Linked DNA regions of Homo sapiens: regions 1, 2, 3, 5, 6 and 7 are each linked to region 4. Evidence: promoter capture Hi-C in 16 types of primary human blood cells and fetal thymus (Javierre and others, 2016). All regions are on one chromosome and are shown on one strand. Each heading gives the region's core, a stretch centred on a gene start or on the middle of the fragment in contact. The rest is flanking DNA. Distances are from core to core; before and after follow the strand shown. Region 1 overlaps RPRD2 (regulation of nuclear pre-mRNA domain containing 2). Region 2 overlaps RPRD2 (regulation of nuclear pre-mRNA domain containing 2). Region 3 holds the start of FALEC (focally amplified lncRNA regulator of ECM1). Region 4 holds the start of CTSK (cathepsin K). Region 5 overlaps TARS2 (threonyl-tRNA synthetase 2, mitochondrial). Region 6 holds the start of RPRD2 (regulation of nuclear pre-mRNA domain containing 2). Region 7 holds the start of LOC124904416 (a long non-coding RNA gene).

Region 1 (3,222 bases), core at 580-3,079, 370 kb after region 4:
CACAACACTGCAACCCAGCCTGGGCCACAGAGCAAGACCTTGTCTCAAAAAAAAAAAGTGTTAAAGTAGAAGTGAATGAGAAATAATTACCAATAAAGTTAATAATTTAAGTAAAGATTTTAATTATGTCTTACGTGAAATGCAGAAGAAATAAAAAACAATGCAGGAAGGGCGTAACCATTGTCAGGGAGAGGAATCAAACTGGTGTGATCTCAGGAAGCAAAACAAGGACAAAAGTATGAAGCCGTAGAGAAAAGAAATTTTATTCTAGCAGATCTGCCAAAGAACAGAAACCATTCTAATAATTTCATAGATCTATCAAAAGACAAAACAGGAATGTAACCTCTCCTTAAGTGAATCCACCAAACCATATGGAGATTGAAGACAAAAAAAAAAAAAAGCTATGTCAAACTTAAGGCCTCTTTCAAGGATGAGAGCCTATGAATCCATAACATCATGTGTTCACAAAGAATTTTTTTCTTGCCTAAGAATGGCTTATGTAAGAAACAGAGAAAATTGTATTAAACCTTACAATTTTCTTTTTTTTTGAGACAGGGTCTCACTCAGTTGTCGAGGCTGAACTATGGTGGCATGATCTTGGCTCACTGCAGCCGCAGCCTCAGCCTCCTGGGCTCAAGCGATCCACCTGCGTGTGACATGCTTTATTGCAATATTTGCTTTATTGTGGTGGTTTGGAACTGAAATCTCAATATCTCTAAGGTATGCCTGACTATGTGTGTGACTGGTTTCAAATACAATACTAACATTTATAGAAGAAAAAGACTGTAAGATAGTAATGCTGAAATTGTTATCTTGTAAATCTCCATTTGGTGAAAGTGAGTGGATTTTTCTTTATACTTTTCACAATTTTCTGTGTTCTATAATGTTTAGATACGGCCGGGTGTGGTGGCTCATGCCTGTAATCGCAGCACTTTGGGAGGCCGAGGGAGGCGGATCACAAGGTCAAGAGATCGAGACCATCCTGGCCAACATGGTGAAACCCCGTCTCTACTAAAAATACAAAAATTAGCTGGGTGCGGTGGCACATGCCTGTAATCCCAGCTACTCGGGACGCTGAGGCAGGAGAATTGCTTGAACCAAGGAGTCGAAGGTTGCAGTGAGCTGAGATTGCGCCATTGCACTCCAGCCTGGAGACAGAGTGAGACTCCGTTTAAAAAAAAAAAAGTTTAGATATGTACTTACCATTGTTACAGCTGCCTATAGTATTCAATACAGTGACATGCAGTGCAGGTTTACAGCCAAAGAGCAATAGGCTACACAACATAGCTTCGGTTTTTAGTAGGCTATGCCATCTACGTTTATTTAAGTACACTCTAGGATGTTCAAAGGATAAAATTCCCTAATGACACATTTTTCAGAACATACTCTTTTTTTTTTGAAGACAGAGTCTTGCTCTGTCACCCAGGCTGGAGTGCAATGGTGCGATCTCGGCTCACTGCAACTTCCGCCTCCTGGGTTCAAACGATTTTCCTGCCTCCGCCTCCGGGGTAGCTGGGATTATAGGCGCCTGCCACCACGCCCAGCTAATTTTGTATTTTTTTTTAGTAGGGACGGGGTTTCACCATGTTGGTTAGGCTGGTCTTGAACTCCCGACCTCAAGTGATCTGCCCGCCTTGGCCTCCCAAAGTGCTGGGATTACAGGTGTGAGCCACCGCACCTGGCCTCAGAACATATTCTTGATGTTAAGCAACGCATGACTTTTTTTCTTTTCTTTTCTTGAGATGAGTCTTGCTCTGTCGCCCAGGCCGGAGTGCAGTGGCACCACCTCCGCTCACTGCAACCTCCGCCTCCCAAGTTCAAGCGATTCTTCTGCCTCAGCTTCCCAAGTGGCTGGGACTACAGGCCAGTGACACCATGCCCGGCTAATTTTTGTATATATATTTTTTTAGTTGAGATGGGGTTTCACCGTATTGGCCAGGCTGGTCTCAAACTCCTGACCTCATGATCTGCCTGCCTCGGCCTCCCAAAGTGCTGGGGTTACAGGCGTGAGCCACGGTTCCTGGCTCAACTTTTTTTTTTTTTTTTTTTTAAATAATGACAGAAAGAATCTCAGCATAAAAAATATAAGAAGTGACAACAGAGTCTGTTCTTTCTGGTTAATAAACCTCTAGAAAATTGTAAAGTTTAGGCTGGGCACGGTGGCTCACGCCTGCAGTTCTAGCACTTTGGAAGGCTGAAGCTGGCGGATCACCTGAGCCCAGGAGTTTGAGACCAGCCTGGGCAACGTGGCGAAACCCCATCTCTGCAAAAAATACAAAAACTTGCCAGATGTGGTGGGGCACACCTGTAGTCCCAGCCACTTGGAGGGCTGAGGTGGGGGAATCGGTTGAGACCAGGGGTTCGAGTCTGCAGTGAGCCCTGACAACACCACTGCACTCCAGCTTGAGTGACAGAGTAAGACTCTGTCTCTAAAAACAAACCAATAAATTTTTAAAAAGTTACATTTACACTATACTATAGTCAATTAAGTGTGCAATAGCATTATGTATTAAAAACAATATCCATATGTTAGTTAAAAAAATACTTTATAGCTAAAAAACTCTTAACAATCATCTGAGTCTCCAGCAAATCATATTCTTTTTGCTGGTGGAGGGTCTTGCCTTGATGATGACTGATCATGGTAGCTGGGACTGCAGGCATGCACCACCACACCCAGCTAATATTTGTATTTTTAGTAGAGACAAGGTTTCACCATGTTGGCCAGGATGGTCTCGATCTCTTGACCTCGTGATCTGCCTGCCTTGGCCTCCAAAGTGTTGGGATTACAGGTGTTAAAAGCCACCATGCCTGGCCTTAATGTTGATATTTTGACCTCTCCCTATGAATCACAAATGTTCTTCATGCCATCTAGAATGGTGAATCCTTTCCAGAAGGTTTTCAATTTCCTTTGCCCAGATCCATAAAAGGAATCATTATTAGCGGCAACTATAGCCTTACAAAATGTCTTTCTTTCTTTTTTTAATAATAGAGACTACGTCTCGCAATGTTGCCCAGGCTGATCTCAAACTCCTGAGCTCTAGAGATCTTCCCATCTCGGACTTCCAAAGTGCTGGGATAACAGGCGTGTGCCACCGTGCCCAGCCTGTATTTTTTCTTTTTATTTGAGACGGAGTTTTGCTCGTTGCCCAGGCTGGAGTGCAATGGCGCGATCTCAGCTCACTGCGACCTCTGCCTCCTGGGTTCAAGCAATTGTCCTGCCTC
Region 2 (3,253 bases), core at 67-2,566, 350 kb after region 4:
TGGTCTTGAACTCCTGACTTCAGGTGATCCGCCTGCCTTGGCCTCCCAAAGTGCTGGAAATACAGGCGTGAGCCACCAAACCTGGCCTAATTTTTGTTTTTTGTTTTTTTTTGAGACGGAGTATTGCTCTGTCGCCCAGGCTGTGCAGTGGCGCGATCCTGGCTCACTGCAAGCTCCGCCTCCTGGGTTCAGGCCATTCTCCTGCCTTAGCCTCCCGAGCAGCTGGGACTACAGGCGCCCGCCACCATGCCTGGCTATTTTTTTGTATTTTTAGTAGAGACGGGGTTTTACCATGTTGGCCAGGATGGTCTCGATCTCTTGACCTCGTGATCCACCCGCCTCGGCCTCCCAAAGTGCTGGGATTACAGGTGTGAGCCACCACGCTCGGCCATAATTTTTGTTTTTTTAAGTAGAGATGGGGTTTCGCCATGTTGTCCAGGTTTGTCTCCAACTCCTGGCCTCAAGTGATCAACCTGCCTCCACCTCCCAAAGTGGTGGCGTGAGCCACCACACCTGGCCCTATAGTATTCTTCATAACAGTAAAAAACTGGAAACATACTAAGTGCCTAATAATAAAGGATTAGATAAGTTACCACATGCTATGCAGCTATTAAAAATGATGTAGAGAAATATTTAATGATTCATAAAAACATTCAAGATATGTAATTAACTTTTAAATAGCTAGTTTTGAAACAGTATATGCAATACACTTACTTTTTTAAAAATTGTTATACATATTTAATTCTCCAAAACATTCATATACACATATACTTTTAAGGGTAAACACAAGTGGTTTCCTTTGGGGTAACAGGATTATAGATATTTATTAAAAAATTTTTTTCATTTAAAATTTTTTATTTAGAGATAGGGTCTCACTATATTGCCAAGGCTGGTCTCGAACTCCTGGCCTCAGGCAATCTACCATCTCAGCCTCCCAAAGTGCTGGGATTACAGGCATGAGCCACCACGCCTGGCCTAGATATTTATTTCATTCTCTTTGCTTATTTTCTAATTTTTCTATAATGACCGATTATTGGATTATTTTTTAATTTAACAATTAATTTAGCTGGGTGCGCTGGCTCACGCCTGTAATCCCAGCACTTTGGGAGGCCAAGATGGGTGGATCACCTGAGGTCAGGAGTTTGAGACCAGCCTGACCAACATGGTGAAACCCCGTCTCTACCAAAAATACAAAATTAGCTGGGCATGGTGGCACATGCCTGTAGTCCCAGCTATTTGGGAGGCTAAGGCAGAATTGCTTGAACCTGGGAGATGGAGGCTGCAGTGAGTGAAGTTTGCACCATTGCACTCCAGCCTAGGTAACATGACTGAAACTCCGTCTCAGAAAAAAAAAAAAAAATCATTAATTAAAAAAAATCAACAACAGACTGGGCACGGTGACTCACGCCTATAATCCCAGCACTTTGGGAGGCCGAGGTGGGTGTATCACCTGAGGTCAGAAGTTCAAGACCAGCCTGGCCAACATGGTGAAACCCCATCTCTACTAAAAATACAAAAATTAGCCGGGCGTGGTAGCAGGTGCCTGTAATCCCAGCTACTTGGGAGGCTGAAGCAGCAGAACACTTGAACCCGGGAGGCAGAGGTTGCAGTGAGCCAAGATTGCACCACTGCACTCCTGCCTGGGAGACAGAGCGAAACTCTGTCTAAACAACAACAACAACAACAACAACAACCCCCCCAAAAACAGATTAATGATTCAATTTAAAAAGATGGAAATTAACTTTTTATCCTCCTTACTGGGCTTACTTACCAGTATTTTTCATGACTGATGTTAAACTGCTAAGGATGGAACTGATCTTTGCCAGATCCACATTAGCCAGGTTTGGCAAAGCCAATGCTGGGGAAGGGGAAAGAGAAGTATTCACAGGCTTTGGAAGAGGTGGAGTTGCTGTCATGGTCACAGGCACTGGGGTACATGAAGAGGCCTTTGAGATATTTTCTGTTGGCTTTGTAGGTACAGAAGTGGATACAGCTGACTTCTCTGCAGGTTTTTCCTTCCTGTCCTCGACTGTTTCAACAAAGAAAAGAGATATTACATCCTACTACTTTCCAGACTTTGCTTCCTATATGAAATAACATGTCCTAATATTTCCGGACTTGGGGGAAAAGGCACTACTTTAGAGAAAACAACGACTCACTTCATGCTTTTTTGAAAAAGTCATACTCTTCATAATTTATGATAATTCCCACCTTTAATATCTGCTTAAAAGCAATTTCCAGCTGGGGACAATGGCTCATGTGAGGTCAGGATTTCGAGACCAGCCTGGTCAACATGGTGAAATCCTGCCTCCACAAAAAATACAAAAAATTAGCTAGGTGTGGTGGCAGGCGTCTATAATCCCAGCTACTACAGAGGCTGAGACACGAGAATCGCTTGAACCCAGGAGGCAGAGGTTGCAATGAGCCGAGATTGTGCCACTGCATTCCAGCCTGGGCAACAAAGCGAGACTCCCGTCTCAAAAAAAAAAAAAAAAGCAAGCAATTTCCAGAATTTATCTTGTATCTTACTTTTCAATGATTCCTTTGCATTTTCTTAGTATTTGTGTATTAAATCTGTACAATTCAAGAAGCATGTTATTATTTGGTACACATTTGTGTTCTGTCTTTTGGAAATGATATTTTTCATAAATTGTCCTGTGTTTTTCTTTTCCATTAACCTGAGAACTTTCTAAGAACTTCTGTTCTTAGAAACAGAACCTCTATAGTGTTCATTGTATTTTCCTCTGGCTTCCTGAAATTGCCCTATTGGGGGGTGCAATCAGGCACTAGCTAATTTGAAACTACAATGTTTTAACTCTCAATCACCTTGAATAATTATTTTTAATGCTTTAAGGGCTGTATCAATAGTGCATTGAATTCAACAGGAGTCAAACTATCTAATAAGATTTATGAAGGCTGGGGATATAAGAGAAACAATTCACCAAATCAGGTTATTTCTGAAAGTGTGATTAACAAACTGACTTTGGAATTCTTGATGGTCAAAAGTGACAGAGAATAAGGAATTCCAGTATAAGTGACCCCTCATCCCAAAACAGTGCTATTTAACATGAATACAATTTAAGCCACATATGCCACATATGTAAGTTTAAATTTTCTAGCAGCCAAATTAACAAAAAAAGAATCAGGGCCGGGCATGGTGGCTCAAGCCCACCTCCCAGCACTTTGAGAGGCCGAGGCAGGCGGATCACTTGAGGTCAGGAGTTCGAGACCAGCCTGCCCAACATGGTGAAAC
Region 3 (3,546 bases), core at 707-3,206, 290 kb after region 4:
CCCAGGCTGGAGTGCAATGGCACAATCTTGGCTCACTACAACCTCTGCCTCCTGGGTTCAAGCAATTCTTCTGCCTCAGCCTCCCAAGTAGCTGGGATTAGAGGCATGCGCCATCATGCCTGGCTAATTTTGTATTTTTAGTAGGGACGGCTTTCACCATGTTGGTCAGGCTGGTCTCGAACTCCTGACCTCGGTTGATCCACTGGCCTCGACCTCCCAAAGTGCTGGGATTACAGGTGTGAGCCACCGCGCCTGGCTAGGTATATTTAAATATACCACACTTTCTGTGTTATTTCCTCTTCCTGGAAGATCTCCCTGAAGGCCAGGCTAGGTGGCTGTCTCAGAATTCTGAGAATATTTCTAACATTAGATGTTCAAGTCTCCACAGACGCTAAAGTCCCTGAAGGTGGTGTTGTAGTCTTCGTTATAGCCAGAGTACTTTTAGCACTCTGCCTAACACAAAAAGGACTGTTTACTTTAGCTGAACTTTGCATACATTCAATGCTTTGTATATCCTTCCCTTTCAACAAAACCCTACTCAAGCTTGAATTCTGTGAAGCTTTCCCTGGCCTCTCCAATAATTAGGAGCTCTGACTCCTTTACTTTACTCACCGCCCCTGAATTGAGCAAGTTATATTTTAATAGTGTATACAACGAATTGCAGTGAATGTTAACACGTTCACCTTTTATTGCTAACAGCAATGCTACCCGTGCTTCCAGGCTCTATCCAAACTCACTGCTTCCAGATAATAGCTGGCTGGTCCCTAGGGAGAATTCTTTAACTCTCAGCATTTGATGCTCAATTCAGTACCTCCTCATATTCAGCACTGTAGCTTACAAGTGCTCTCCGGGTTCCCTTCCTCTCCTCCCCGACAGACTAAACTGCTAGGGTTTGGGACCGCAGTCCTCCTCTCCTCTGACTCCCACCTCTCTGCAGCATTTGGCGCTGCACTTTGCAAACGCAGCTCTAAAGCATCTCCGGGAAGCTCCTGCACAGACCAAAGCCCCCCCGCTCCCTTTTTTTTTTTGAGACAGAGTCTCCTCTCTCGCCCAGGCTGGAGTGCGGTGGCGCGATCTTACTGCAGCCTCCGCCTCCCGGGTTCAAGCAATTCTCTGCCTCAGCCTCCCGAGTAGCTGGGATTATAGGCGCCCGCCACCACGCCCTGCTAATTTTTTTTTTTTTTTGTATTTTTAGTACAGACGGGGTTTCACCTTCTTGGCCAGGCTGGTCTTGAACTCCTGACCTCGTGATCCACCGCCTCGGCCTCCCAAAGTGCTGGGATTCCAGGCATGAGCCACCGCGCCCGGCCCAAAGCCCTTTAAAGACAAGTCTCCGCTTGCGGATTCGCCCGCCAGGTGACAAGGCTTCGTGGGCCAGGACTCCGCCCGCTCCCCGTGGGCTGGGGCGACCCAGGCCAGGAGGGTACACGTGGGACCGGGGGGTAGGGGAATTGCTGGGCCGGCCTTTTCCCCCTGCCTCCCCCGGTTCCTCTGTCCTGGAGGCCGTAGGAGATGCGCAGGACGCCCGCACATGCGCAGTGTCACTCTCGAGCTCCAGACTCGAGCGCGGCGGGCAGGAGGCCCAGGCGGCCCCGGGCTCCCGAGACTGGGCTGCCGGCTCAGGGGCGGGGCACAGCGCTGCCCTCGCCCGCTCATTGGCTCGCGTGCTGACGGACAGGTGGGGCGGACAGCCGGCGAAAGATCTGAGGAGCCGCTGGACTGGAAACTGCTACTGGGCTAAAAATACTTAAGTAAATAAATGAAAGCCTGTGGAGGAGGAGAGGAAGGAGAGGCGGGCGTGGGTTTGGGAGCAACTGAGGCTCCGCTTGCCCCTGGCTGGCGCAGGATGATGGTTCTTGGTTCACTCTCTCCGTCTCCGCTAGAACTGGAGCGGAGAAGTCTGCTTTCTGGAAGGTCGTCCTGGCGGCGGAGTCACACAGGACTTGTTCCCCTGGGACTCTTCATTCCGAGTCTTCATTCCGATTCTTTCAGATCCAGCCTTGAGGCCTCGGGTTCCTGGGAGCAGCTTTGTAGGGCTTGAGAGTCCTAGTCACCGCCACCCTCGGGTCCAGCTCAGGTTGGGGGCTACAGCTCCGTCCCTCCGGCACTTGGGACGACACTCTTTGAACTGGCCTCCCAGCGTCCCGCCTTGCTGGCTGCCGACTAAACTTTTTTTTTTCTTTTTGAGACTGGGTCTCGCAGGTTGAAGTGCAGTGCCGAGACCATAGCTCTTTGGGTGGCTGGGATTACAGGCGCGCGCCACCTCCCCGGCTCTCCGACTAGACATTATTTTATTTTATTTTATTTTTGAGGCACAGTCTCGCTGTGTCGGCCAGGCTGAGTGCAGTGGTGCGATACTGGCTCACTGCAACCTCCACCTCCCAGGTTCAAGTGATTCTCGTGCCTCAGCCTCCCGAGTAGTTTGGATTATAGGTGGGCACCACCACGCCTGGCTAATTCAGTAAAGATGGGGTTTCACCATGTTGGTCGGGCTGATCTCGAACTCCTAACCTCAAGTGATCCGCCCGCCTCGGCCTTCCAAAATGCTGGGATTACAGCGTGAGCCAGTGCGTCCGGCCTAGACATTCTTAAAAGGCAAATTGGAACACATCCTCCGCTTGAAAACGCCAGTGCCCCCTGGGCCAGGGCACCAAGATCCACTTAAAACCCTGCGGGTGAGGCATTAGTGATGAGCTCCTGCTTATCATTCCAGCCATATCAGAGAGGAAGGCCACCAAAGAGTCAGGTCCTTTCAGCCTTGACCCTTGTGCGCACTCTGCCCGCTCACACCCTCTACTTCTTTACTGGAGAAACTCTGACCTCAACGCCCCTCCTGTGCACCTGTGCTGCCCCCAGCCCCACTCCCACCTCGGGACGTTCCTGTCATGCTCAGAGCACGCTGGGGGCCCTGTACCACAACACTTGTCACACCTGCTAGGCTCAGGGACAGTGAACAACCTCAGGGCAGGGGCTGTGTGTGTTCTGGATGTGTATCCCCAAGTCTAGCAGAGTGTGCATAGATAGGGGTTCAATAAATGGATATTGGCCAGGCACAGTGGCTCACGCCTGTAATCCCAGCACTTTGGGAGCCTGGCCAACATGGTGAAAACCCGTCTCTACTAAAAATACAAAAATTAGCTGGGTGTGCTGGTGCACGCCTGTAATCCCAGCTACTCGGGAGGCTGAGGCAGGAGAATCGCTTGAACCCAGGAGGGTTGCAAGTTGCAGTGAGCCAAGATCGTGCCACTGCACTTCAGCCTGGGCGATAGAGCGAGACTGTGTCTCAAGAAAAAAAAAAAAAGGATATTGAATGAATGAAGGCATGAATTCTAAGGATCAAAAGTGAAGCTTTAAAAATGTTAGGCTGGGCTGTGGCATTTTGGGGGCTCACCAAGGCCAAGAACCATATCTTCTTTGAGTCCTGATAGCTAGCTAACAAGGTGGCACTCCTTTCAAAATATGTGAATAAATTCAAGATGGCAAAGTGACGTCAAGCTGTTTAGTTATGGTCGCATCCCACAGCCTGTGAACATCTGCTCAGTGAAG
Region 4 (2,780 bases), core at 1-2,500:
AGCTTCCCAAGTAGCTGGCACTACAGGTGTGTGCCACCATGCCCAGCTAATTTTTGTGTTTTTTTTTTTTAGTAGAGATGGGGTTTCACTATATGTTGGCCAGGCTAGTCTCGAACTCCTGACCTTAGGTGATCCACATGCTTTGGCCTCCCAAAGGCCTGGGATTACAGGCGTGAACCACTGCGCCTAGCCTGTTAGCAGCTCTTAAAATCCAGAGGCATAAGCCTGTATTTTTGAGGGTTTATGCATGGAATCCAGCTAGAAACTGAGTCTATTACAGATCCCATTTATTATCCTTTCTATTCCAAGAAGCCTTTTTTTCTCCTTCCCCACATCTGTTTATGGAAGAAAATGAAGTTTGGGGTGTGGTTTGAGGAATCAGCTAGATTCTTATGATCTGTCACATGCTTGGATGTTGGGGAAGCATTTGGAGAAGCTCATGTGACTTGTCCTAGATTGGGGATTTTAATTGAGACAGATGATGTTTATCGGGCATCCCACCACCTGAGAGTTTTAGCAACAGAGTCACATGTGAGTCCATCAGAACTTACGGCATTGATTCAAGTGCTGTCATAAATAACCAGGACTGCTGTTTTTGGTTACTTTTAAAGACAGTTTCATCTGGACTTTCTGGGCATATCCTCCTTCAGCAAAACCACATTAGGCTGGGAAAACTATTCTGCCTGGAAGTAATGACAACTTGCAACCAACAAGCTTATAAAAATACAAAGAATTCTGGAGCCTATGGCTTCCATTACATTATTCTTTTATAGCCTTTTATGTTCATTACCGCATCCCAGAGGTGAGAGTCAGACACAAATATGAAAATAGGTTTCAATGTTGGAGAGGTAAATCCTAACAGGAAAGGGGTAGGAAAAGATATAATCCCCCAATATTAAAATAAAGATATTGAAGAAGAAGGATGGGAGAGACTAGGGCTGTGTCCTTCCTTTTACTCACCAAAAGAGAAAGTAAGCTCCTATTTGAGTCAATAGATATTGAGGTCTTGTTATTTGCCACCAAAGACAGTCTTGTGAGACTAAATAGCTAGTAATTCCCTACCCTGGCACACATGCTGCATACACACAGAAACACTGCAAATCCACTGCCTCCTTCCCTCCTCCCTACCCTTCCTTCTCTCAGCATTTCTATCCCCGCCTCCTCCTCTTACCCAAATTTTCCAGCCGATCACTGGAGCTGACTTCCGCAATCCCGATGGAATAAATCTAGCACCCCTGATGGTGTGCCCACACTTTGCTGCCGAAACGAAGCCAGACAACAGATTTCCATCAGCAGGTAACGTTTGCAACTTCCTAGATCTTTTAGCTTTTCATTCCTGTCAATTCTCTGAGTATTAGGGATGTAGTGACTTGAGGATCACAATAAACTTTTAGCCTCTGCAGATGAAAACAGAGATGCACTTCTTAGGTCATTCCCTGGCTAAATAAAATCTGCCTGGAAATCTGTAGAATTCCTTGTATGATTTATATATATACATACATGATTGTTAGTAAAAGCAAAGTATATAGGGAATCATTTCCCCATCCTTCAAGAGTGGCCTTTCTGCAGTGTTTTCTACTTTGGCCAACAAGGATCAAAACGGTTAACTCCTTAGTGAGGAGGAGGAGAGTGGTATGGGGAGGTAGTAGCTCAGTGCTTCCTGTTCACTGAGACATCTCAAAGCCCTTAACACTCTAGTTTTTAAATGTCCTACTGGACATTTTGCCAGTTTGCAAAATTACATGTAAATGGACTATAAGCAATTGTGTAAGCCATATGTCATGCTGCAGGCTGCAAATTGTTCTTAAAATGGAGGATTTGTAATTAAGAAAGCCAATGCAAGAAATGAGTGAAGCTAACTAGAGTAAACTTATGAAAAGCTGTGAATTTCATCATCATAGAACATTGCTTTTCAGTCTGAACATTCTTCTAACAAACCTTGGATCTGAGGCTTCTTGTCCTTTGCGGCAGCCACAGTGGGTTTTTGTTGTTAGGGGAAAAATAAAAAACCTTGCCCGCAGCATCTGGTTAAGATTAGGGCAGTTTCCTGCCTAAGGAGGGAAGGGAGAGAAAAAGGAAGAAGAAATGCATAAGGAGAATGAGGAGATATACAATGTCTCAGAAAACAGGAAACATTGTCCTATTTTCCCTTGTCCTCTTCTGACAAGATCTGGGAAAGTACCAGAATTTAGGCACGAAAGAGAAGAACGCCTCGAAGAAATGATCAGGAGGCAAAACTTAGACGGAAATCTCTCCTTTGTGTATTCTGAACCCCACTACCACCTTGCTATTTGTCTGTCTCCAAGCCTGCTAGGGACCCTGGAGGAAACGCACTGAGCCCATTCTGATTGTCCAGTTTCTATCCCCCATTTCTGGTTGTGTACGTGTGTGTGTGTGTGTGTGTGTGTGTGTGTGTGTGTGTGTGTGTGAGAGAGAGAGAGACAGAGAGAGAAACAGAGAGAGTGTGTGTTGCCTAAATCTCCCGAGAGAGAGAGAGAGAGAGAAAGAGAGAAATGGCTAAATCCCCCTAGATCAAAGTCCTTGGAACCAGATGTACCAGCATCCTATCTAAACACAGGCCCCTCCTGACTATCATTGTTTTATCACCCTTTTTCCGTCTACCTTTCTCTTCCTCATAAAGCCTAGTTTTCCTCTGTTTCCCTGCCAAATGGAAGAGTTTTCCCTAACTACATTCTTCTGCAGGATGTGGGGGCTCAAGGTTCTGCTGCTACCTGTGGTGAGCTTTGCTCTGTACCCTGAGGAGATACTGGACACCCACT
Region 5 (3,178 bases), core at 168-2,667, 310 kb after region 4:
CCACGTTGGCCAGGCTGGTCTCGAACTCCTGACCTCAAGTGATCCACCCACGTCGGCCTCCCAAAGTGCTGGGATTACAGGCGTGAGCCACCACACAGGCCTCATTTATTCATCTTCTAACTCCACCCTCAGGCCCTACTTTACTGAAAATGGTCCTTTGAAATCCAGCAGCCTTTTTACTAAATCCAGTGGACACTTTTCAGTCCTTTTTTCCCCTTGGCTTCTTTTTTTTTGAGACAGGGTCTCACTCTATCACCCAGGCTGGAGTGCAGTGGGGCGCAATCTCGGCTCACTGCAGCCTCTACCTCCTGGGACCAGGTGATCCTCCCATCTCAGCCTGCTGGGTAGCTGGGACCACAGGCACAAGCTACTGCACCCGGCTAATTTTTTTTTTTTTTTTTGGTAGACACAGGGTCTCCCTGTGTTGCCCAGATTGGTCTGCCATGTGTTTTCATCCTTATCCCCAGCCTCTGCCTACACTGTTCCCTCCTGAAACACATCTTTACTTGGCCAACACTCACCTTTCAGATTGGAAAGTGATTCCTGCAGGACACCTTTTGTAACCTCCCCGAGTAATGCTAACCCCAGCTAACGTGCTCTCTTGGTACCTACACAGCACAGATCTCGCAGCACTGATATGGCCTATTTACCTTCAGCAGCCCTCACTAGATTGCAGATGCCAAGAGGGCAGAAAGTATATTGTTTTTCTTTATATCCTACGTAAGTTTAAAAATATTTCTTTGTGGCCGGGTGCGGTGGCTCACGCCTGTAATCCCAGCACTTTGGGAGGCCAAGTGGGGTGGATTGCCTGAGGTCAGGAGTTCGAGACCAGTCTGGCCAACATGGCGAAACCCCATCTCTATTAAAAATACAAAAAAATTAGCCGGGTGTGGTGGCGTACACCTGTAATCCCAGCTACTCGGGAGGCTGAGGCAGGGGAATTGCTTGAACCAGGGAGCTGGAGGTTGCAGTGAGCTGAGATCACACCACTGCATTTTAGCCTGGGTGACAGAGTGAGACTGTCTCAAAAAAAAAAATTCTTTGTATCTATTAAATATTTACTAAAACAAAGCAAAAAATAAATAAATACAACACTAACCAGGGTCCCAAGCTTACCTTAGGTCCATAGAAGGCACCATCTCCAGAGTTGAGGTCCCAGGGTTCTCCAAATTCCTTCAGGGCCTGTTTAAGGACCTTTGAAGGAATGAGACAAGAGTGGAATACATCATCTTAGACTTCAAAAGCAACACATCCGGTCAGTCCCCAACAAATGACCCACTCACCAGATGCCTCTGAGAACCTTGATTACTGTATTCTCCACTCCTTCCCACCAGAGAGTGGTTTATCTGCCTCTATTTCTCTACCTCCTACTCACCTGTTCGGCCTGGTCCCAAAGGCAAGGGTCCCCCAGGAAGCCAGATGGCCGGGTGGACAGTGCCAGGCGGAAGGAGAAGCCAAGAACGGCATAGACGGAACGGAGGAAATCAAGACAGCTTTGGATCTCTGCTTCCAGCTAGGGGCAGGAAATAAGGGTCAGTGAGCTGTGAGCCCGCTAGAGATCAGGGATGCTGGCAGTTTGAGGAAAACAAAGGGCAAAAACAGAGAGGAAGCGGAAGCAAGCTGGGGGTAGAATGTAGCTGAATTATAGTACATACAGGGGGCAAATAAAGATCAGGGGTTTGCAGGTTCATAGGGAGAAAGAAAGGTGGTTTAGAAAAGCTTTGGTGGAGCCAGGGAAAGGCCACCTGATCTGTTGTACAGAAGATGTGAGCGTCATCCTGCTGGAAGCACCGCAGTCGGGTCAGTCCCCCCAGACCACCAGAGGCTTCGGCCCGGTGTAGAGCCCCAAAGTCAGCTAGTCGCAGGGGCAGTTCCCGCCAGGATCTGGGCCGGTGGGCGAACATCAGGCTGAGGTTGGGGTGCAGAGGGGTCAGGGCCATAGGGAGGACTAGCCCCCGAAGACTGCTCCTCCACCCAATCTGCTTGCCTACTTTCTCTGCACCATCTGCTATAACCCTCTCCAGCCTCAGCACATCCTCCCACTGAGTCCTGTCAATCCCACTCATCACAGTCTGAGCCCTGAGGTTCAAAAGTGGATTTCTCAGTAACACAATAACAGACATCGTTTACCATTTCCCTGTTCTGTGATGGTCACTGAGCTGAAGGAGGAGCCTTAGATAGCAACTTTAAGGAGACTGAGACCTAAAGAGGTAAAATGAGTTTCCCAAATTTACATGGTTAGCTAGGGGGAAGACTGTAGGCTCAAATCGGTGTCCCAATACTCTTTCCAAGGTGCTTTCTTTTTTTTTTTTTTTTTGAGATGGAGTCTCGCTGTGTCACCCAGGCTGGAGTGCAGTGGCGCGATCTCGGCTCACTGCAAGCTCCACCTCCTGGGTTCACGCCATTAGCCTGCCTCAGCCTCCTGAGTAGCTGGGACTACAGGCGCCCGCCACCGTGCCCGGCTAATTTTTTGTATTTTTAGTAGAGACAGGGTTTCTCCATGTTGGTCAGGCTGGTCTCAAACTCCCGACCTCAGGTGATCCGCCCGCCTCGGCCTCCCAAAGTGTTGGGATTACAGGCGTGAGCCACCGTGCCCGGCCCCAAGGTGCTTTCTATTATTTAATATTTAGCAACCTGATTGTAACCCTAGCTCCCAGCTTACCAGTGTGCAGGGCAGTTCATAGGCTTGAGGGCGAGTGTATCTGTGATATGCCTGGTAGAATCGTCACTCTGGGAGCTGGGAGGCCTGTCAGAGCCTGGGGGCTGCACGGCAAACATGTCTTCCTGATAATGCTCCCAGTGCCCTGACTGTTCCCAGAGCTTCGTAGAAAACAGTGTGGGAGTTTTCACCTCGGAGAAACCACGATGGGCATACTCAGCCTGGAGAGGAGGGTACAGACATGGAAGGTCAGAGTAACTGGAAGGAAAGCAGGTAGGGTGTCAGCTGTGTGATCTTCCTGGGCCCTCAGGCCATGCTGATTGCAACCACAACCTATTAAATACCAGGTCCCATCTCTATGCTCCCCGACTGCAGACCACACAATTGTAGTATTAAAGGTCACCAGCACTTTCAATATTTATGTTTATGATTCCAAACCAGCCCCCCCACCTTTTTTTTTCTCTTCAAGACGGAGTCTCACTGTATCACACAGGCTGGAGTGCAGTGGCTCAATCTCAG
Region 6 (3,312 bases), core at 134-2,633, 440 kb after region 4:
CTGGTCAGTATCCAAGAAACCTGTATTTTATTGCAGCAAACACAGGTACAGGGAAAACCCGGTGGTGCCTCAGATCTATGTAGAGCTCATGCTGCTTCTTAACATTCATCCAGGTAAGGCTCTCCTTACTACACATCACAAGTTTTAGATACATTCATCCAGACAAGGCACTCCTCATTAAACATCACTGGATTTACTACTGCTTAAAACCACAGCTCGCCTACCATCAGGAAAGCCAGAAATCATTAACACGTCAAGGCCTGTAAGAAATAAACAGACGCTACAATTTCCGCGAAGGTTCGGAAAAATCAATACACCTTACAAGGCTCTGAAATATTAAAAACAATATACGTAAATCTCCATGGATCTGGGCCCAACGGCCCAAGGTCACAACAATTCAATGGCTAAAAAACCCAAGAAATGAGTCTCCTGCAATTCAGGACAATCCTGGCTAGGAATGGAGTCTGGGTTTGGGACCACTGGGGTCAAACCTTTAATGTGAACAACCCCAACCAAATGCTGCGGCTCCGTGGGAAAACCCCAAGCGTTTCAGGCCACACTTCCTTCCATTTCCCCAGTCTTCCCTTCCCTAGTCACCCCCAACACTCACATCTCCGGAGCCACTTCATCCAATGATAGACGATAGTACTGTGGTGTTTTTTGTTCTCTATACACCAAGACGACAAGCCTTGAATGGACTCCATGGTGTTGGTTACCGACTGGAATTTTCGATCCAACGAGGACTCCAGAGCCCCTGCCGAAGAGGCCGACGAGGAGGAGGCCTTACTGCTGCCTCCGCCGCCGCCGGCCGCCATCTTCCCGGTTTGCACAAGCGCTGCTGCTCCTCTGGCGGCGGCGGCGGCGGCGGCGGCGGGAGCGGGCAAAACAATCACTGCGAGTGCGTGAAAGCCGTAGGTGGGGAGGGAAGCTAGGGGGTGGGGATGGTGCACGCGCTGGGCTCTTCTGGAGGTACGGACGGGAACACCAGCTGCTGGGCACGCTGGCAGCTCCTACACGCTGCAAGGAGGGGCTGCGGGTCTCGGAGGTTTTATCAATATTGTTCAAGGGGTCGTGTTTAAACCAGTCAGTAATCACGGAAAAATTACGCAGAAAACAGGACCTGCAAAGCCTTTCAAAACGCCTGACGCCGAAACTAATCGTTTTATACTTTTCGGCTCTCAGTGCTAAGGCCCTTCCCCGCCCCTGTTCCCACACTCCTGTGAGCCAGGTCGGGCGTTAATATCTTAAATGTAATACTACCCGACTGCCCCTTCAGTTGCAGAAATCTTTCTTTCCTTTAGACTCGCTAGCACAGAAAAGGTCCAAGGCTACCTAGTCAGGATTTTTTTTGCAACGCAATAGCAGCAAAGGGGCAGCAACAGTATCGCGCACGCGCCACTTGGCCCCACCCCCCTACCCCTGCTTCCTTCTCAACCTTGAAAGCAGAGGGAGGCGTGATGGCGGGGCAACCTGACCAATCAGGAGTGGAGAACCACAAGCGCGCGCAGGAGCTCTGAAGCCCCCAGGGCCCAGGAGGCGCTACGATTATTTTTGCGCCTGCGCAGAAGATAAGCGTGTAACGGGATGGAAGGAAAAACTGGGAGGGATGGGTGAGGGAGCTGGTATAACTAAGGTTAGCCGGGTGGGGGGGTTCCCCTGCCCCGCCCTTTGCTGCTTTTGGCCGCTCTCTTGGGTGTGTTCAGCTCACACAACAGAGACAGAAAATTCCCACCACTGAGACCACTGTTAGTCTTCAGGGGGCTGCAGCCATCGCCCCCAACTCCTCGGAGGAGCAACGCGCGACAAAATGGCTGGCAGCCATCTTGCGGCACCACAAAAGATGCGCATGCGCCAGATCCAGTGAGCCATTCACTACGCAGACTCCGACACCAAACCGTATTTATTGCTGCCCATAGAAGATAACATTCACAGCCGCTTGACCATTTAGGTTACAGGAAAAGGAAATAAATGAGGAAGTGAAAGGAAATTTTCCTCATAAAATTTTTCGAGGCGAAAAAAGAATGGCAAGATGTGACCTCATTTTCGCCAGCTATGATACAATCTTAAAATTGCATAATACATTACAGTTTTCAAGAGTCTTACGTAACTATTATATGAACCTTATACGAACCATTTTATCGCAGGTATCTATGTAAATCCTCTGAGCTAATTTAAAGGCTCCTGTGTTCCCACTAAACATATACAGTTTTAATTCTTTTAACGTCTCCTCACTGCGGCCATGCCTCTTGAGGCAGGGAACCTGTTTTGTCAAGTTCATGTCCACTATTCATTAATTCAACGAGTTGTTGAACCTCTTGTGCCAAGTACTGTTTTAGATCATGGGGAGCAAAACAGACAAAAATCCGTTCCCTCCGGGATTTAGTGGCAGGACACCACCAACAAGTACATTTCAGACAGTATTAAATTCTGTAAAAAGGTGAAGCAGGGTAAGGGAGAAAGGGGTGTGTGTGTGTGCGCGCGTGTGTGTACGTGTGCACGGCACGCACGCGCCAGTATAAGAATGGTGGTATGGTGAACCAGGAAGTCTTCTCGAAAGAAATAACTCGATCTGAACATTGAGAAAAAAGCAACCAAGCAGATATGCGAGACGGGGAGCGGAACATGCTGGCATTAGGAACAGCAAGTGCAAAGGCTCTAAAATACAGTCTCGCTCTGTCCCTGCCAAGGCTAGAGTGCAGTGGCACTATCATATCGCACAGCAGCCTCAATCCCCCAGACTCAAGTGGTCCTCCTGCCTCAGCAGCACAAGTAGCTGGGACTACAGGCCTGCACCACCACACCTAGCTAAAAAAACAAAACAACAACAACAACATTTTTTTGAGAGGGGGAGTCTCCCTATGTTGCCCAGGCTGGTCTCAAACTCCTAGCCTCAAGCAGTCCTCCTGCTTTCAGCCTCCCGAAGTGCTGGGATTATAAGCTTGAGCCGCCATGCCTGGTCCTGACCCCACATTTTTTTTTTTTCTGTAACTCTAGCCAAAGACCCACTTTTTTATAGACTATTTTTAGAGCAGTTTTAGATTCACGGCAATTGTGTGGAAAGCACAAGGAATTCCATATACCACCTGCCCCCACACATGAATACCCTCCCCCATTATCAATGTCACGCACCAGAACGATACATCTGTTACAACTGACAAACCTACACTGACACATTATCACCCAAAGCCCATAGTTTACATTAGGGTTCGCTCTTGGTGTTATACCTTGAGTTTGGACAAATGTGCATGTATCCACCATTACAGTATCATACAGAGCAGTATCACTGCTCTAAAAACCTCTGTGTTCCACCTA
Region 7 (3,577 bases), core at 476-2,975, 330 kb after region 4:
ACTTCGGACTTGTGACTAGCATATGCCTCAGTATTGGGGAATTTTAATCCATTAGTCAGCCTAGGAAACATCTATTCTTTTTTTTTTTTTTTTTTTTTTTTTTGAGGTGAAGTCTTGCTCTGTTGCCCGGCTGGAGTGCAGTGGCATGATCTTGGCTCACTGCAACCTCCGCCTCCTGGGTTCAAGTGATCCTCCTGCCTCAGCTTCCCCAGTAGCTGGGATTACAGGTGTACGCCACCACACCCAGCTAATTTTTTTTGAGTCAGAGTCTTGCTCTGTCGCCGAGGCTGGAGTGCAGTGGCGCTATCTTGGCTCACTGCAACCTCTGCCTCCCGGGTTCAAGTGATTCTTCTGCCTCAGCCTCCTGAGTAGCTGGGATTACAGGTGCGCGCCACCACGCTCGGCTAATTTTTGTATTTTTAGTAGAGACAGGGTTTCACCATGTCAGGCTGGTCTCGAACTCCTGACCTCGTGATCCGACCACCTTGGCCTCCCAAAGTGCTGAGATTACAGGCGTGAGCCACTGTGCCCGGCCTGTTTTTTGTTTTTTGAGATGGAGTTTCACTCTTGTTGCTCAGGCTGGAGTGCAATGGCACGATCTTGGCTCACTGCAACCTCCGACTCCCAGATTCAATCGATTCTCCTGCCTCAGCCTCCCGAGTAGCTGGGATTACAGGTGCCCGCCACCACACCTGGCTATTTTTTTGTATTTTTAGTAGAGATGGGGTTTCACAATGTTGGCCAGGCTGGTCTTGAACTCCTGACCTCAGGTGATCCACCTGCCTTGGCCTCCCAAAGTGCTGCGTTTACAGGCGTGAGCCACCATGCCTGGCTTGAAACATCTATTCTTAAAACTTGGGCTGTTGCCCCTCCACCCTAGACTACTACTGAACACCCGGTGCTATGCCTTCACTATTTCACCTAATTCCTAAAACAACTATGTCAAGTATACTCCCTTTAAAACAGGAAAATGATTCTCAAAGAAGTAAAGCCCCCAGTCTATCTGAATGCAAAGCCCTTGTTGTTTATGCTATGCCATACTGCCTCTCAGGGACCAGATTGGTCATAATGTGTCAGGTTATAAGATTCTGATACTTGTGGCCAAATAGGCCTTTGATATAGGGTAAAAGAGGTGGGTCCAATAGAAAGCCAAGAAAAGAGGCGTCTTCCGACTTTTCTCTACCAGATTAAGGTTAAGGAAAAAAGTGTGCACAAAATAAAGCTAGATTTCCACAGAAGTGCAGGAAAAAGGGAATCCACAGTGAAGGGTGTCCTAGGCCCTTAGTAAAATTTTAGGAAATTCTCAGCTTAACTCCACTTTTGGAATAGAAATTCCAAGGTGACTAGAGTCCTAGTTCAGAAGGTATTGTTTTTATAGCTTTAAACTACATGTAACTTTAAACTACATGTAAATATTTTCCACTTGTCCTCAGGATCAGCACATACCTCCAAATCTATCTTACTTCTTAGAAGCACTAAAGATGTAGAAAGTATATTTGGCTGGGTGTGGTGGCTCACGCCTGTAATCCCAACACTGGAGGCTGAGGCAGGCGGATTGCTTGAGTCCAGGAGTTCGACAACAGCCTGGACAACATAGTGAGACCCCCATCTCTACAAAAAATAAAAAATTAGCTGGGCATGGTGGTATGTGCCTTGGGAGGCTAAGGTGGGAAGATTGCTTGAGCCCAGGAGATCCAGTGCAGTGAGGCGTGATTGCACCACTGTACTGCAACCTGGGCAACAGAATGATACCCTGTCTCAAAAAAAAAAAAAAAAAAAAAAAAAAAAGAGAAGGCAGAGGCCGGGCACAGTGGCTCATGCCTGTAATCCCAGCACTTTGGGAGGCCGAGGCGGGTGGATCACGAGGTCAGGAGATCGAGACCACCCTGGCTAACATGGTGAAACCCCGTCTCTACTAAAAATACAAAAAATTAGCCGGGCGTGGCAGCGTGCGCCTGTAGTCCCACCTACTCGGGAGCTGAGGCAGGAGAATGGCGTGAACCCGGGAGGCGGAGCTTGCAGTGAGCCGAGATCGCACCACTGCACTCCAGCCTGGGCAACACAGCAAGACTCCGTCTCAAAAAAAAAAAAAAAAAAAAAAGAGAAGGCTGGATGCAGTGGCTCACGCCTGTAATCTCAGCATTTGGGAGGCTGAGGCAGGTGGATCTGAGGTCAGGAGTTTGAGATCAGCGTGGCCAACATAGTGAAAGCCCGTCTTTACTAAAAATACAAAAATTAGCCAGGCGCGGTGGCTCACGCCTGTAATCCCAGCACTTTGGAAGGCTGAGGCGGGCAGATCACCTGAGGTCGGGAGTTCGAGACCAGCCTGACCAACATGGAGACACCCCGTCTCTACCAAAAATACACAATTAGCCAGGTGTGGTGGCACATGCCTGTAATCCCAGCTACTTGGGAGGCTGAGGCAGGAGAATGGCGTGAACCCGGGAGGCGGAGCTTGCAGTGAGCCGAGATTGCGCCACCGCACTCCAGCCTGGGTGACAGAGAGAGACTCTGTCTCAAAAAAAAAAAAAAAAAAAAAAAAAAAAAAGCCTGGCGTGGTGGCGCATGCCTGTAGTCCTAGCTACTTGGGAGGCTGAGGTGGGAGAATCACTTGAACCCCAGAGGCAGAGATTGCAGTGAGCCGAGATCGTGTCACTGCACTCCAGCCTGGGCAACCAAACAAGAATCCGTCTCAAAGGAAAAAAAAAAGATATTAGAGGTTAAAAAAAAAGGAATAAGGTAAAATATATAAAGAAAGGATTATGAGGCCGGGTGTGGTGGCTCATACCCGTAATCCCAGCACTTTGGGAGGGTGAGGTGAGCAGATCACTTGAGGTCAGGAGTTCAAGACCAGCCTGGCCAACATGGTGAAACCCATCTCTACTAAAAACACAAAAAATTAGTTGGGCATGGTGGTGCACGCTTGTAGTCCCAGCTATTCGGGAGGCTGAGGCGGGAGAATCGCTTGAACCTGGGAGGTGGAGGTTGCAAGGAATTAAGATCATGCCACTGCACTCCAACCTGGGAGACAGAACAAGACTCCGTCTCAAAAAAAAAAAAAAAAAAAGAAAAAAAAAAAGAAAGAAAAGAAAGGATTATGTCATTGCTAACAAAAACCTTTGGGGCCCAGAGAAGTAGCCAAGTGGCTAAAGGCACAAGTGGTAGGGAAGTTAGGTTTATTTTTTAAAAAATAATTCCCTAGTAATGTAAGTGGAAGATCTGGGATGGGGCCAATCTTTAACTTTGCTTTAAAATGCCATCATAGGCTGGGCATGGTGCCCCACACCTATAATCCCAGCACTTTGGGAAGCCAAGGCAGAGGACCGTTTGAACCCAGGAATTCAAGACCAGCCTGGATAACATAGTGAGATCCCATCTCTACAAAAATAAAAAAAATTAGCTGGGCATGGTGGTGCATGCCTGTAGTCCCAGCTACTCAGGAGGCTGAGGTGAGAGTTGCTTCAGCCCAGGAGTTGGGTTACAGTGAGCTATGATTATGACACTGCACTCCAGCATGTACAACAGAGTGAGGCCCCCGTCTCTAAAAATAAAATAAAAGGGCTGGGCATGGTGGCTC

Evidence for each region. The method cuts DNA at HindIII sites, captures the fragments that hold promoters and counts their contacts. A CHiCAGO score of 5 or more calls a contact.
Region 1: a fragment that was not itself captured here is called in contact with the fragment with the promoter of CTSK in region 4 in 2 of 17 cell types (total B cells and naive B cells); the score reaches 5.3 in total B cells.
Region 2: a fragment that was not itself captured here is called in contact with the fragment with the promoter of CTSK in region 4 in 1 of 17 cell types (neutrophils); the score reaches 5.3 in neutrophils.
Region 3: a contact is called between a fragment that was not itself captured here and the fragment with the promoter of CTSK in region 4, in 2 of 17 cell types (neutrophils and endothelial precursors). The highest score is 5.6, in neutrophils.
Region 5: a contact is called between a fragment that was not itself captured here and the fragment with the promoter of CTSK in region 4, in 4 of 17 cell types (erythroblasts, neutrophils, endothelial precursors and 1 more). The highest score is 6.6, in erythroblasts.
Region 6: the fragment with the promoter of RPRD2 here is called in contact with the fragment with the promoter of CTSK in region 4 in 1 of 17 cell types (neutrophils); the score reaches 5.1 in neutrophils.
Region 7: a fragment that was not itself captured here is called in contact with the fragment with the promoter of CTSK in region 4 in 2 of 17 cell types (endothelial precursors and erythroblasts); the score reaches 5.5 in endothelial precursors.

The regions. Positions count from the first base shown.
Region 1 is chr1:150,436,806-150,440,027 of GRCh38, reverse strand. The region is part of intron 2 of RPRD2 (regulation of nuclear pre-mRNA domain containing 2); the gene reads right to left. Among named protein-coding and RNA genes, the nearest start is that of TARS2, 49 kb to the left of the region's middle. The HindIII fragment of the contact is 5,634 bases long and covers 1-3,222 here.
Region 2 is chr1:150,458,836-150,462,088 of GRCh38, reverse strand. It overlaps RPRD2 (regulation of nuclear pre-mRNA domain containing 2), which reads right to left. Exons shown (of 11, transcript NM_015203.5): 9 at 1,772-2,029. Among named protein-coding and RNA genes, the nearest start is that of TARS2, 27 kb to the left of the region's middle. The HindIII fragment of the contact is 5,293 bases long and covers 1-3,253 here.
Region 3 is chr1:150,513,729-150,517,274 of GRCh38, reverse strand. It overlaps FALEC (focally amplified lncRNA regulator of ECM1), which reads right to left and starts at 1,523. Exons shown (of 6, transcript NR_186305.1): 1 at 1,213-1,523. It overlaps ECM1 (extracellular matrix protein 1), which reads right to left. Exons shown (of 10, transcript NM_004425.4): 10 at 3,486-3,546. RefSeq lists a silencer at 1,329-1,698 and enhancers at 1,789-1,938, 2,009-2,078. The HindIII fragment of the contact is 2,789 bases long and covers 562-3,350 here.
Region 4 is chr1:150,806,730-150,809,509 of GRCh38, reverse strand. CTSK (cathepsin K) reads left to right here and starts at 1,250. Exons shown (of 8, transcript NM_000396.4): 1 at 1,250-1,296; 2 at 2,704-2,780. The coding sequence starts at 2,705. The HindIII fragment of the contact is 11,451 bases long and covers 717-2,780 here.
Region 5 is chr1:150,497,232-150,500,409 of GRCh38, reverse strand. TARS2 (threonyl-tRNA synthetase 2, mitochondrial) reads right to left here. Exons shown (of 18, transcript NM_025150.5): 10 at 2,663-2,880; 11 at 1,746-1,908; 12 at 1,376-1,513; 13 at 1,117-1,194. Among named protein-coding and RNA genes, the nearest start is that of MIR6878, 6.5 kb to the right of the region's middle. The HindIII fragment of the contact is 608 bases long and covers 1,114-1,721 here.
Region 6 is chr1:150,362,218-150,365,529 of GRCh38, reverse strand. It overlaps RPRD2 (regulation of nuclear pre-mRNA domain containing 2), which reads right to left and starts at 1,383. Exons shown (of 11, transcript NM_015203.5): 1 at 611-1,383. The coding sequence starts at 815. RefSeq lists enhancers at 1-112, 596-875, 1,626-1,935, 2,096-2,165, 2,146-3,088. The HindIII fragment of the contact is 10,239 bases long and covers 1-2,940 here.
Region 7 is chr1:150,481,014-150,484,590 of GRCh38, reverse strand. LOC124904416 (a long non-coding RNA gene) reads right to left here and starts at 80. Exons shown (of 2, transcript XR_007066600.1): 1 at 1-80. The HindIII fragment of the contact is 5,385 bases long and covers 1-3,577 here.